Regions from separate parts of the Homo sapiens genome. Here all the other regions are linked to region 1. The links are contacts of gene promoters, found by promoter capture Hi-C in blood cells and fetal thymus (Javierre and others, 2016). All regions are on one chromosome and are shown on one strand. Each heading gives the region's core, a stretch centred on a gene start or on the middle of the fragment in contact. The rest is flanking DNA. Distances are from core to core; before and after follow the strand shown.

Evidence for each region. Contacts are between HindIII fragments. The CHiCAGO score rates a contact against its expected background, and 5 or more counts as called.
Region 2: a contact is called between a fragment that was not itself captured here and the fragment with the promoter of CCL20 in region 1, in 1 of 17 cell types (naive B cells). The highest score is 5.2, in naive B cells.
Region 3: a fragment that was not itself captured here is called in contact with the fragment with the promoter of CCL20 in region 1 in 1 of 17 cell types (naive CD4 T cells); the score reaches 5.4 in naive CD4 T cells.
Region 4: a contact is called between a fragment that was not itself captured here and the fragment with the promoter of CCL20 in region 1, in 1 of 17 cell types (naive B cells). The highest score is 5.1, in naive B cells.

Annotation. Positions count from the first base shown.
Region 1 is chr2:227,811,929-227,815,358 of GRCh38, forward strand. CCL20 (C-C motif chemokine ligand 20) reads left to right here and starts at 1,914. Exons shown (of 4, transcript NM_004591.3): 1 at 1,914-2,059. The coding sequence starts at 1,984. The HindIII fragment of the contact is 16,817 bases long and covers 1-3,430 here.
Region 2 is chr2:227,138,960-227,142,389 of GRCh38, forward strand. COL4A4 (collagen type IV alpha 4 chain) reads right to left here. Exons shown (of 48, transcript NM_000092.5): 4 at 1,202-1,279. Among named protein-coding and RNA genes, the nearest start is that of COL4A4, 24 kb to the right of the region's middle. The HindIII fragment of the contact is 186 bases long and covers 1,471-1,656 here.
Region 3 is chr2:227,166,286-227,169,715 of GRCh38, forward strand. The region is part of intron 1 of COL4A3 (collagen type IV alpha 3 chain); the gene reads left to right. Among named protein-coding and RNA genes, the nearest start is that of COL4A3, 3.4 kb to the left of the region's middle. The HindIII fragment of the contact is 197 bases long and covers 1,851-2,047 here.
Region 4 is chr2:227,273,321-227,276,262 of GRCh38, forward strand. All of the region lies in intron 26 of COL4A3 (collagen type IV alpha 3 chain), which reads left to right. All of the region lies in intron 4 of MFF-DT (MFF divergent transcript), which reads right to left. Among named protein-coding and RNA genes, the nearest start is that of MFF-DT, 50 kb to the right of the region's middle. The HindIII fragment of the contact is 3,156 bases long and covers 1-2,942 here.

The DNA.
Region 1 (3,430 bases), core at 664-3,163:
GTAGCTGGGATTACAGGCATGGACTACCACACCCGGCTAATATTTGTATTTTTAGTAGAGACAGGGTTTCACTATGTTGGCCAGTCTGGTCTCGAACTCCTGACCTCAGGCAGTCCACCCACCTCGGCCTCCCAAAATGCTAGGATTACAGGCATGAGCCACCACTCCTGGCCAGACACATTGGTTATTTAGGAATATGTGGTTTCCTTTCTGTCTGTTACTGATTTCTGATTTAATTCCATTGTGGTTTGAATGTATACTTTATGTGATTTCAGTCGGTTTACATTTACTGAGACTTGTTCCATAACCTACCATATGCTTTATCCTAGAGAACATTCCATGTGCAACTATTCTGTTGATGTTGGATAGAGTAGTCCTTCGATGCCTGCTAAGTCTATTTGGCTTATAGTGTTGTTCAAGTCTTCTATTTTCTTGTGGATCTTCTGCCTAAATTTTATTAATTAGTGAAAATGTGGTACCAAAGCTGTCAACTTTTATTGTTAAATTTCCTATTCTGCTGGGCACGGTGGCTCATGCCTGTAATGAGGTCAGGAGTTCAGCCTGGGCAACATGGTGAAACCACGTCTCTACTAAAAATACAAAAATTCGCTGGGCGTGGTGGCACGTGCCTGTAGTCCCAGCTACTCAGGAGGCTGAGGCAGGCGAATCGCTTGAACCCAGGAGGCGGAGGTTGTAGTGAGCCGAGATGGTGCCACTGCACTCCAGCCTGGGCAACAAGAGCAAAATTCTGTCTCAAAAGAAATTATAATAATAAAATAAAATAAAATTTCCTATTCTTCCCTTCAATTCTGTCAGTTTTTGCTTTCTGTAGTTTGGGGTGCTACTGTTAGGTATATATATGGTTATAGGTTTTACATCTTCCCAATGGGTTAATTTTGTGTTACCATGAAAGTCCCTTTTTATTTCCGGTAACATTAAAAAAAAATCTATTTTGTCTGATATAGGCATCACCAACTCCAGTTCTCTTTTGTTTACTGTTTGGTATACCTTTCTTTTGATCCTTTTACTTTCAACCTATTTGGGTCTAGTGGAGAGTTCTTATACTGCCTTAGGTTAGGGATTCATATTACATTATCATCATTAGTACTGTTATTTGACATTTGCTGTGCTGACTAGCTACTGCTGATAGGTTTTCTTTCCTCAACAATTCTGAGGCTCTATATTGAGTTATATTAGTACATCATCATGGAGAGTTAAAGGTAGGTAAGGATTATTTTCTGAACTGCAATATTGATTAAAGCCATGTGAATGTATAAGATTCTTAGAAGAGTTGACATTAAATCAAGGTGAAGCTGAGGTTTGAGCCTTACTTAAAGGCTGATATTTTCCACTCTAACTGCGGACAGTACTGTAGCACTGTTATAGTACCTGCTCTGAATGTTAGTCTAGCAACTCAGGGTCTTCTTCATGACAGCTGAACCTCAACCATGTGATGGTAAATGTGTAGCAGAGTATGCCTGGCATCCCACCTGCTCCTCCTCCCCCTCCTCCTTGACTGGTTCTGGAAAGCAAATAGGGTGTAACAATAGGAGTTCTGGAATGTTCCTGTGTGGGGCTGACCTTTGTATCGCTGTTAATCCTCTATTTTCAGACACAAAAATGATTAAGTTAAAACTGGATGAAAGTCTTTTCTGGGTCACAGGGCTGAGCTGCTTTTGCTCTTTGCAAATACAAAGAATTTAACAGGATTCTCCCCTTCTCAACTTCCTGTCCCCCACCCTGACCTTCGCACCTTCCCAATATGAGGAAAAAGCAGGAAGTTTTCCTTGCGGGTTTTTTTTATGATGACATGATGGGGCCAGTTGATCAATGGGGAAAACCCCATGTGGCAACACGCCTTCTGTGTACATTCCCAATATTTGCTATAAATAGGGCCATCCCAGGCTGCTGTCAGAATATAACAGCACTCCCAAAGAACTGGGTACTCAACACTGAGCAGATCTGTTCTTTGAGCTAAAAACCATGTGCTGTACCAAGAGTTTGCTCCTGGCTGCTTTGATGTCAGTGCTGCTACTCCACCTCTGCGGCGAATCAGAAGGTAAGTGTCGCTCTTTCCGCTAGCACAGAAGAAAGACTATTTTCATTTTCCTTTTAGCCTTGAGCTCAACTGGGGGTCCCTAAGGGATGGAAAACTGTTAGGAAGTATACAAGAGGTAGTGATGGAAGTTGTCTGCCCATGGTGGAGTGGAGGAGAGAAGAGTTACTGCTGCGGATCAGGCTTTCCTCTCTGCTGTCAATCTCAGCAGATTTGGGGAGTGGTGGGCTCTTAGAGATCCCTAAACTTCAGGATAAAGCCAAAGTGATGTTTCTGGGAGTGATATAAAGTGTGTAATGTTACCAGTAGATGGGGCCATTTTGAAATGTAGAGAATCCTCCTGTGTCCCCAACTTTCGTACCTCCCAACTTAATAGTTTTGGTAAAGTTCAAAACTCATCCTTTAGAAGTAGATTATAATACCTGACATCAACATCCCCACAAGGCATGGGGGACATTGCTTGCCAACTTTAAAATAACATTAATCCCTTACCTTACAGCATGTTGTAATCTGACTCGGGAATGTCCAAGTATTGCTTTATTGCTCAATAGTCACACAACACTTTTAGCAACAGGTGCATTCCTAAAAATGCACATTGAATTTTTTTTTTTTTCTGAGGCAGGGTCTAACTTCATCACCCAGGCCAGAGTGCAGTGGCATGATTACAGCTCACTACAGCCTCAACCTCCTGGAGTCAAGTGAACCTCCAGTCTCAGCCTCTTGAATAACAGGGACCACGGCCGTGTGCCACTCACCTGGCTAATTTTTTTACATTTTTTTTTTTTTTGTAGAGACAGGGTTTCACTGTGTTGCCCAGGCTGGTCTCGAACTCCTGGAGGCAAGCAATCCTTCCTCCTTGGCCTCCCAAAGTGCTGGGATTACAGGCATGAGCCACCATGCCCAACCACATGTTGAACTTTTATGAACAAAATTAAACATTCCTATTAATTAATAGGACAATTTCAAAGTGTTTTCACTCCTATAAATCATATTTCCCTTTGTAGCTCTATTTCTCAATACTTAGTAGCCAGATAATAGATTAAAATCTGCCAATTTATTCATTTTCTGCTTTTGGAAGTTTATCTACATAAGGGTTCCTTCAAGCAGTAGGGAAGGGGCTGCTCATATTCTTGAATGATTATAGTGAACTGAAATGAAATATTGTCAATTTGTATTTCTTACTGAAGATATCCCACTTATGAGAAGTCCTGTGTTTCTCAATTCTATTATTGAACCAAAACTTCTCGGCACACAAACTGTTTTTTCAAAGAACTGTAAACTATGTTAGATTGGTTCTCAACGACCTTACAAAGGTTTCCAAGACATTGAAACTCCTCCTCTAAGTGGTTTATTCGTCATATACATGAGATTCAC
Region 2 (3,430 bases), core at 314-2,813, 670 kb before region 1:
GAATGTTTGTGGCCCCCAAAATTTATATGCTGAAATTCTAACCCCCAAGGTGATAGTAGGAGGAGATGGGGTATTTGGGAGGTAATTAATCAGAGCGGAGTAGTCATGAATTGGATGAATGCCCATATAAATGGGACCCCAGAGGACTCTTTCTCTCCACCATATGAGGATACAGTGAGAAGACACCATCTGCACACCAGGAAGCAGGCCTTCAGCAAGACACTGGATCTGCCAGCACCTTGTTCTTGGGGTTCCCACCCTCCTGGACTGTGAGAAATAAATTTCTCGTAAGCCACCCAGTCTATGGTATTCTGTTACAGCAGCGAGAATGGATGAGGACACATTTCAAAAGAATCATTGATCTGACTCAAAAATTGTCCCAAACTTCTATACCACACTCCTTTCTTGTGAGATTGTGGGAGTAATTGTAATTAGAGAATTGTTTGATCTAATACTTTATCACAAATGAATTAGTGGGCTGCTGTCAGAACATGGGGGAGACATTAACAAATGTTCAAGAGACCTGACAGACAGTAACCAAAGAGGTTCTTGGCTTTGCAGAACAGAGAATCTAGCGTGGTCATCAACGCAAACGTTCTGGGTGGACTTGAGCAAGACACTAACTTTCTTGGGCTTCAGTCTCCTGCACTGCAAACATGGTATCCTAAGAAGGTTCTTACGAGAAGTCAATGAGCAGAAGCATTTTGAACTCATAGAACAGTGCCTGGCACATAACAAGCATACAAAAAATATAGCTATCACTTCATTAGAACACTGTGCCACTTGTTTCAATAGCGACAATCCAAGAAAGAGTCCTGTGGTCAACTGTCTGGAAAGACCAAACAAACTTGGATTTTTTTCTACCAACTTCAGTACCTCTCAGAGCCTTTAAAATGCCATATTTCAGGATGGTGACCCAGTAGTTACCATTTCACACCAGGACCCTTCCTCCACAGGACAATTCACAAGACTAGTGTCATATAAAACAATGGGTGAATCGCAGCTTCCTAGACTATCTTCTAAGCCTGGACTGTCTAATATAGTTGAGATTGCTATTAGAATGTGAAAAACTTCGGCTGTGAAATACATAAACATTATCGAGGACTAAAATTTGCCAAGAATCTGGGATTACTTTATATTAAATATTCACAAGTTCTCAAAATTCAGGAATGCTGCCCATGTTGGTCTTTACATCACTTACCCGAGACCCCTTTTCAGGAACACAGTGGCAAACAGAGCAATCTCTTCCTCCACAAGGACCAATGTATTTCTTTCCACTCTGGAAAGTGAAGCATCTTATTTAGTATACCAGTACTCATCGTTTAACTACGTGCATAACACATACATTATAACAAGCACTCTTGGTTTACCTTTGACTCCATGAGAAGAAAAGACTAATCATGACATATAAAAAGATGAAGAACTTACACAGTAGCTTAATAATAAGGAGGGTTGATTATATGAGCAAGAAGCTTCCAAACTGAGGATGCTGAAGGAAAATAAGTATCCTTCTAAAGTCGTTTGGCTTTAACTGGAATCTTCTGCAGTTTCTCCCTTTCGGTAAGACTTAATTTATTAAGTTGTGAACAGTCTTAGAGTGTAAACTATGTGGTTAGGCAATCCATGCATAGACAGTGGAGTCTAGTTTAAATGAAAAGCTTGTTTTTTTTTCAGGGCCTGTTTTGCTTTATCTTCAAGATCAGCTACAGTGTATCTCCTCCCTCATCAAACTGTCCTTCCTAGGACAATTCTTCTGTCCCATCCTTGGGCTTAAAATTAAAATTGTTGTTCCTACAATTTGCTGAGACTCCAAGATGGTTTCTCTAATGTGTTTCTCAAACAGAAACTCCTGAACTTGAATAATTTGGACCTTTTCCCCACTTTTAGCAAACTTTCCAACACTGTCTTTAGAGCATCACACACACACACACACACACACACACACACACACACACACACACACCCTTTAGGAAGAATCAGCTCCTTGTTCTCATGAATCCTAATCACCTATATCCAGAGTCATCATCCACTTCCATATAAAAGCATAGTCCCAGAGTACTATTTCCATAGGCAGATCCCTTAACAGCAATCACCATGATGCACCTGCAATGAACATGAGCACTGAGCGTGCATTCCCAGGCTGGGCCTGCCAGTGGGGAGGGAGTGGTGGTTTAGGCCCCTGTGTAGTGGACAAATCACCTCTAGGTGCTAGGACCCAAGGGCATGGATAAGAATATCAAGAAAGCATCAGAGAAAAGGTTTGCCTGGCTCATGATCTGGCCTAGCTGTCATTGCAACATTTATACATTGGCCATACAATTTTATGATTGATCAACCTTTTTAAACTTAAGGCTGTAAACTCAAGCCTTTAGACCACTGTATGATGGGAAAACATAAAACAATAAAACTAATATTTATAGTCCCATGGAAGACATATATACATATGTATGTGTGAATGCATTGAATATATATGTGTATATGTGAATATTCATGTACGTATACATATATATGAACAGGTATATGTGTATGGGAGGGAAAAGAGTCTAATCAGCATATATTATTTTTCTTTTCACTCGCACAGTTTAGGCTTATTTTTTGGAGAAAAATATGCTCAGACACAATCCAAAAGAAAATATCTTTAAGCATTAATTTTAAAAAGACATCTTTGTAAACAATATTCTCATGGATCATTAAAAGCATACAAGAATTTGAAGCTTGACGAGAGTCAAGCGATTAGATAGTTTAAGTTTAAAAATGTATTTGAAGTTTCAGAAATATATGCCTCTTGAGTTTTGAGTAATGTTGTTATCTATAAATGCAGAAATATTAAGTTAAACACCCTGATAAGGTTAAAAAAAAAATTAAATGCCCGGGCCCAGGTCGGGACAGCATGAAAGCACTTAAAGTAACTAGATTGAATACTTGGGTTCATTTAAGGTTGGGCTTCATTACTATGTGTTCGCTGAAATATCAAAACAACTAGAGGAAAAAAAATAAGGTCAGCTGATTAGATGGCTTGATAATAAGGGCAAGTTTGTTATTATTATTTCTTTGCTTATTTTTGCCAAACATCACTGAGATGTTTGCAGCAAAACTATGTTTCAGGAAAGAATCACTTTAAAATAGATTAGTAGATTCAAAAAAAAAAAAAAAAAAAAACAGGAATAGTCACATATCAAGGTTTGACTTGGATCAGTAAAAGGAAAAAGCAAGAGGTGATTTTAGCCTCTGCAAAGTTATTCTACGTAAACATTCCCCAATAAATATTTAAAAGAGGAGGGTGAAATTATAGAGGTCTGCACCTCAAAAATAGATTGTATAAATTCATTTTAAAAGATAAACACAATATTTCAGACAATTAAACATTCAAAGTACGAACGACATTCACTGGGAATACATTCACGCTCTCGGAAACTAATGTTACTCTTCT
Region 3 (3,430 bases), core at 699-3,198, 650 kb before region 1:
ATGCTACTAGGCATGATAGATAAAACTCAGTGGGGATTATCTACCAGCTTTAACCAGGACAAATAAATCCAAAAAAGCAAAATCCTAAAGGAAATGTGTGTTGTGGGGAAGCCTGGAGAAGAGATCCAGAGCAGGGTTTGCACATGTTTCTGAATTTAGAAGAACAGGAATGAGATTGGGAAGGGGTGGAAGAATTGTACTTATGTGAGGATCAGCCTGAAAAAGTAATGCTTGGGGACCATGCAAACTCTAGTTATACCATTTTCAATTCTGTTGTTACATTCCTTTGTTATTTTTACATGTAAACTTTTCTGTTTTGAGTTTGGCCAAATCTTGGTGACTTCTTGCTGAAATTAATCCATTTGTATTGTTTTTCTCATCACTTGAAGTAAGTCTTTCATTAACAAGTTTTCAGGATTATCATTTCCAGTGTACCTGCTGGGTTAGAGAGAAAATATGCCAGTAAAATAATGAAATGTGCCTTCATCTTGTAGAAAAAGGAATCACAACGTTCACTGATAATCGGGCAATGTGCACCAACATGGCTCCCTTCACAGAGAAACTCTGCTGTTGGGCAAGGCTGTTGACCACTCTGAGCCTCAGTTTTCTCATGTGTAAAATGAGAGTTGAAACCCCAGTGGGGCCAGCAGGTGAAGTAAGGAGTAAGGCAATGGGGTAAGAGAGACTCTTCAGAACCTAGTTGTTAGCATGCTAGAATTCAAGCCCAATTGTGCCAGCATCACTTCAAGAGAGAAGTTGGGAATCCAGTTTTTATTAGAAACTTCTCAAATTCTAAATATTAGCAACTAAGCCAAAACTTTACAAAAACATAGTGTGGGCCAAACAATGTATAAGTGAGAGCTAAATGTAACTTTGGAGCCATTATATTTTATTATTTTTGTTCTACTCCAGTTAAGGATGTGTTTCGCTCCAATTTATTCAGTTTTACTTTAGCATTTCTCAAAACAGGGAAATAGCAGCGGTGTTGACTCTACATGCTAAGTTTGTTTAGACGGGGTGGAACTGTCCACCCACACAATTTGGACTGATGTGCCGAGAATTAAATACCTCTGCTACTTTGCACAGGCATCCAGTTCCAGGCTGGCTGCCCAGCGCATCCCCAGGTTTTATAGCTGTCAGGGCCCAGCTCACCCACTTGAAATAGGGCGGCACCTTGTTGTTGTCTCAGGCAATAGACCTGGGAGTGGAGGTATAGAAAGCCCCTTCTTTGATTTCTGGATAAGGTGATGTTCACACATTAAGATATCATGGTTTATCCTTCTTCTTGCCTTAGCATTCCAGACAGGGCAGCAATATGAGAAGCAAATGTCAAAACGTGAAAAACACCTACATTTGGGGAGGATGCCTTCTCACCGGGCTTCATTTTCAAATTTAAGCACTTTCAGTTAAATTAGAAAACAAAAAGTAATGGAACAGACACCAACTTATCTATCCCTGAGATTAAGCAAGTATTAATATACTTTGACTTGTTTGTTCTCAGATTTCTACCTTTAGGAAAAAAAAAATCTGAATACAGAAAGTCATACACACATTCTTTACTCCCTCTTCCATCCCAAAAAGTTTATGTATGTAATTTCCCTGCACAGTTTTGTGTGTGTGTGTCTGTTCTCCGTAAAAAATAAGTATTATTGTTTTGTGGTCTTTCATATGTGATAAATAGTTTCACATTACACGTATCTATTGGAGCTTGCTTTTTATCACTCCATATTATGTTTTTGGATTTTATCCATGTTGGTACATATAGATATGATGTATTTGTAGTAATAGCTGCTGCATAGTATCTAGTTATATAAAGTATGATTCATTTTTCCATCTCCCTAAACAAAGTAAGCTTGTCTTTATATTTTCATTTTATAAAGTTGCAATGCATATTTTGGTATATGCACCACTGTGACAACTAGAATTTGAATTCCTAAGTGGTTCGTAGAGAAAACAAATTTAAATATATTAGGAATTGACAAGTTCATCTGCAAAAGGGTTGTACCAACAATGTACCAGAGTGCCTGTTTCCCTATGTCTTTGGCAAAGCTTGGTGTGCTTAGATGTTAATGGTGTGAAATGAGATCTTGTTTTGACCAGTGAGTTTGTAAACTTTTTTCTTTTTTAATTGGCCCTTTATATTTCCTTCAGTGTGAACTGCATAGTGCAACTTTCTGTCTGTTTATCTATTGTGAACTTTGCCTTTTTGTTGCTAATTAATTAGAAGTTATTTATATATTTGGATACAAAACTTTTGTCATTAAAGTGTATAGCAAATATTTTATTCCAATCTTTGGTTTATCTTTGAGTTATTGGTGCCTTAATGTATAATACTGTTTTCACTATAATCTCAAACTGATTTTGTTTTGACATTTTGTCTTTTGTACCTTGTCAAAATTTTTTTTTCCTTTCCTGGGATTATAGGAATGTTCTCCTACATTTAAAAAAAGTTTCATAGTTTAGCTCTTTTACAGTTAGATCTCTTAATCCTGTAATTATTTTCTGAATTATGAGATCTACTTTTATCTTTTTCCATGTAGATGACAAATCGTCCCAACATTTTCAATCAAATAGTATATTCTTTCCTTCTTTTTTTTCTTTTTTTTATTTTATTATTATTATACTTTAAGTTTTAGGGTACATGTGCACAATGTGCAGGTTAGTTACATATGTATACATGTGCCATGCTGGTGTGCTGCACCCATTAACTCGTCATTTAGCATTAGGTATATCTCCTAAAGCTATCCCTCCCGCCTCCCCCCACCCCACAACAGTCCCCAGAGTGTGATGTTCCCCTTCCTGTGTCCATGTGTTCTCATTGTTCAGTTCCCACCTATGAGTGAGAATATGCGGTGTTTGGTTTTTTGTTCTTGCGATAGTTTACTGAGAATGATGATTTCCAGTTTCATCCATGTCCCTACAAAGGACATGAACTCGTCATTTTTTATGGCTGCATAGTATTCCATGGTGTATATGTGCCACATTTTCTTAATCCAGTCTATCGTTGTTGGATATTTGGGTTGGTTCCAAGTCTTTGCTATTGTGAATAGTGCCGCAATAAACATACGTGTGCATGTGTCTTTATAGCAGCATGATTCATAATCCTTTGGGTATATACCCAGTAATGGGATGGCTGGGTCAAATGGTATTTCTAGTTCTAGATCCCTGAGGAATCGCCACACTGACTTCCACAATGGTTGAACTAGTTTACAGTCCCACCAACAGTGTAAAAGTGTTCCTATTTCTCCACATCCTCTCCAGCACCTGTTGTTTCCTGACTTTTTAATGATTGCCATTCTAACTGGTGAGAGATGGTATCTCATTGTGGTTTTGATTCGCATTTCTATGATAGCCAGTGATGGTGAGCATTTTTTCATGTGTTTTTTGGCTGCAAAAATGTCTTCTTTTGAGAAGTGTCTGTTCATGTCCT
Region 4 (2,942 bases), core at 192-2,691, 540 kb before region 1:
AAATTTCCTAGAATATTCTATATCTATTACATACATACATATATATATATGAAATGAATAGATCCTAAGCGTTATTGCAAATTTGTTTTTTGTGGTTTTCTAGAGACAGGGTCTCACTGTGTTGCCCAGGCTGGAGTGCAGTGGCATAATTATAGTTTACTGCATCCTCAAACTTCTGGGCTTAATAGATCCTCCTGCCTGGTCTCCTGAGTAGCTGGGGCTACAGGCACGTGTCACCACGACCAGCTAATATATATTTTATTTTTATTTTTTGTAGAGACAGGATGTTGCTGTGTTGTCCAGGCTGGTCTCCTACTCCCAACCCCAAACAATCCTTGCTTCAGCCTCCCAAAGTGCTAGGATTACAGGCGTGAGCCACTGTGCGCAGCCACAAATTTGTTGATTTTGATCCATAACTCCATAGGCAGGTTACAAATAAAACTTTAAAATATCTAAGACAAATGAAGGAAAATGGTCTGATAATAGTTTAAAAGTCCAGGTAACTTTTGGGATATACATATACTGGCCGTAGTTCTGGATTCAGGAGTGTGGCTGAAGGTCAGAATAGCATGCTACTGATAGTTTTGAGCAAATAATGCCAACATGGTCATGTTTTACTTCTAAAATCACCTTAGGCTGGGCACAGTGACTCACACCTGTAATCTCAGCACTTTGGGAGGCCAAGGTGGGCAGATCACTTGAGGTCAGGAGTTCAAGACCAGCCGGGTCAACATAGCGAACCCCCATCTCTACTAAAAATACAAAAATTAGCTGAGCATGGTGGCACATACCCACAGTCCCAGCTACTTGGAAGGCTGAGGTAGGAGAATCGCTTGAACCTGGAAGGTGGAGGTTGCAGTGAGCCAAGATCGTGCTACTGCACTCCAGCCTGGGCAACAGATTGAGATACTGTCTCAAAAATAAATAAATAAATAAATAAATAAATAAATAAATTTTAAAAATCACTTTAAAGGGTAAGACCCAGTAAACCTCTAAATCATTTTGTAGTGTCTTCCCTCATCAGTAAAACTTTTTGAGTGCACAACCTTACATTATATGTTATAAATGTATGCATCATTTCTGTCCACACATGTATGTAAATCTTATTTTATGACTTTCTCTATATATTAAATAAACAAATAAATATTTATGTTTATCTGCACCTTACTTTGGAGCTGCTTTTTTTTTTTTTGTCTGAGATGGAATCTTGCTCTGTCGCCCAGGCTGGAGAGCAATGGCGCAATCTTGGCTCACTGCAACCTCCGCCTCCCAAATTCAAGTTACTCTCCTGTCTCATCCTCCCAAGTAGCTGGGATTGCAGGCACCTGCCACCATGCCAGGCGAATTTTTATATTTTTAGTAGAGATGGGGTTTCACCATGTTGGCCAGGCTGGTCTTGAACTCCTGACCTCAGGTGATCCACCTGCCTCGGCCTCCCAAAGTGCTAGGATTACAGGCATGAGCCACCATGCCTGGCCGAAGGAGGCTGCTGTTCTAATCCAGGTACTAGCAAACGGTGGTGGACCACAGTCCAAGACCAGCCCACTGCCTGATTTTGTATGATCCTCAAGCTAAGAATGGTTTTCACATTTTCAAATGATTGAAAAAAATGTTTAATGATATTTTGTGATGCATGAAAATTACATGAAATTCAAATTAGAGTATCCATAAATAAAGTTTCTTGGAACACAGCTGCACTCCTGTATGTACTGTCTCTGGCTGCTTTTATGCTACAATGGCAGAATTGAGTAGTTGGGTAGATTTCAATCACGAAGCCTAAATTTCTTACTATCTGGCCCTTTACAGCAAAAGTTTATTTAGCCCTGTTCTAATCCATCACCAAATGCTCTGTTGTTGTTGTTGTTGTTGTTGTTGTTTGAGATGGAGTCTTGCTCTGCCACCCAGGCTGCAGTGCAGTGGCGTGATCTCGGCTCACTGCAACCTATACCTCCTGGATTCAAGGGAATCTCGTGCCTCAGCCTCCTGAGTAGCTGGGATTACAGGCGCACACCACCAGGCCTGATTAATTTTTGTATTTTTAGTAGAGACGGGGTTTTACTATGTTGGCCAGGCTGGTCTTGAACTCCTGACCTCAAGTGATCCACCCGCCTTGGTCTCCCAAAGTTCTGGGATTACAGGTGTGAACCACCACACCCAGCCTCTTCTGTGATTTCTAAGTGTGAATCTTTACTAAAGGATTCCATTGTCATAAAATATATTATTACCAAAATTGTCCCATCACATACTGTAAACCTATTTTTTTCTATAAATAAATGACTATATGGACAACACTTATCACTAAACATGTTTTTAATGTTTGCCACTGTGGTCAGAATATTATCTCGTGTCCTTATCTGCTAGGTAGGCATTCTTTCCCCCGCGACAGATGAGGAACTTATCAGAGAGGTTAAGAAAAGTGTCCAGGTTTACAAACCAATGTCAGCCTTGCCCATATCAAAACTTACTGTTTTGTTCAATAGCCTTCCTGTGGAAACTAGCCACCCAATAAATAAGTATCCTATCAGTATTCACCAACGTTTAAACTTAATTCCATATTATCAATTTTTTGGAATAGGCTCTTTTCAATAGACCAGCATGTTGGGCTATTAATTTCCCTTTTAGAAAAAAAAAAAAATTGCAGCTCGCTGCCAGCGCTCATTTAATTTTACATAAACACATTCTTTGAGGCTGAAGCAAATCTGATTTTCAATGTGAAATAAAATACAATAACTGTTCTTGGAGTTATTTCTAAACAGAATTTGTCTCTAATCCTAATGTAAGAGGGTAAAGTTAGGACCGTCATCTGTGAGTTATCTCAGAGTAAACAGGAAACAGGTTAAAACAAAGTTTAGACGATTGTCTACACTTATAAATATTTGTTGATTCAATAAGAAAGTTTCTATGGGCTGGTCGTCCTTAAGCTAGTTTTGAAGTCTGTGAAA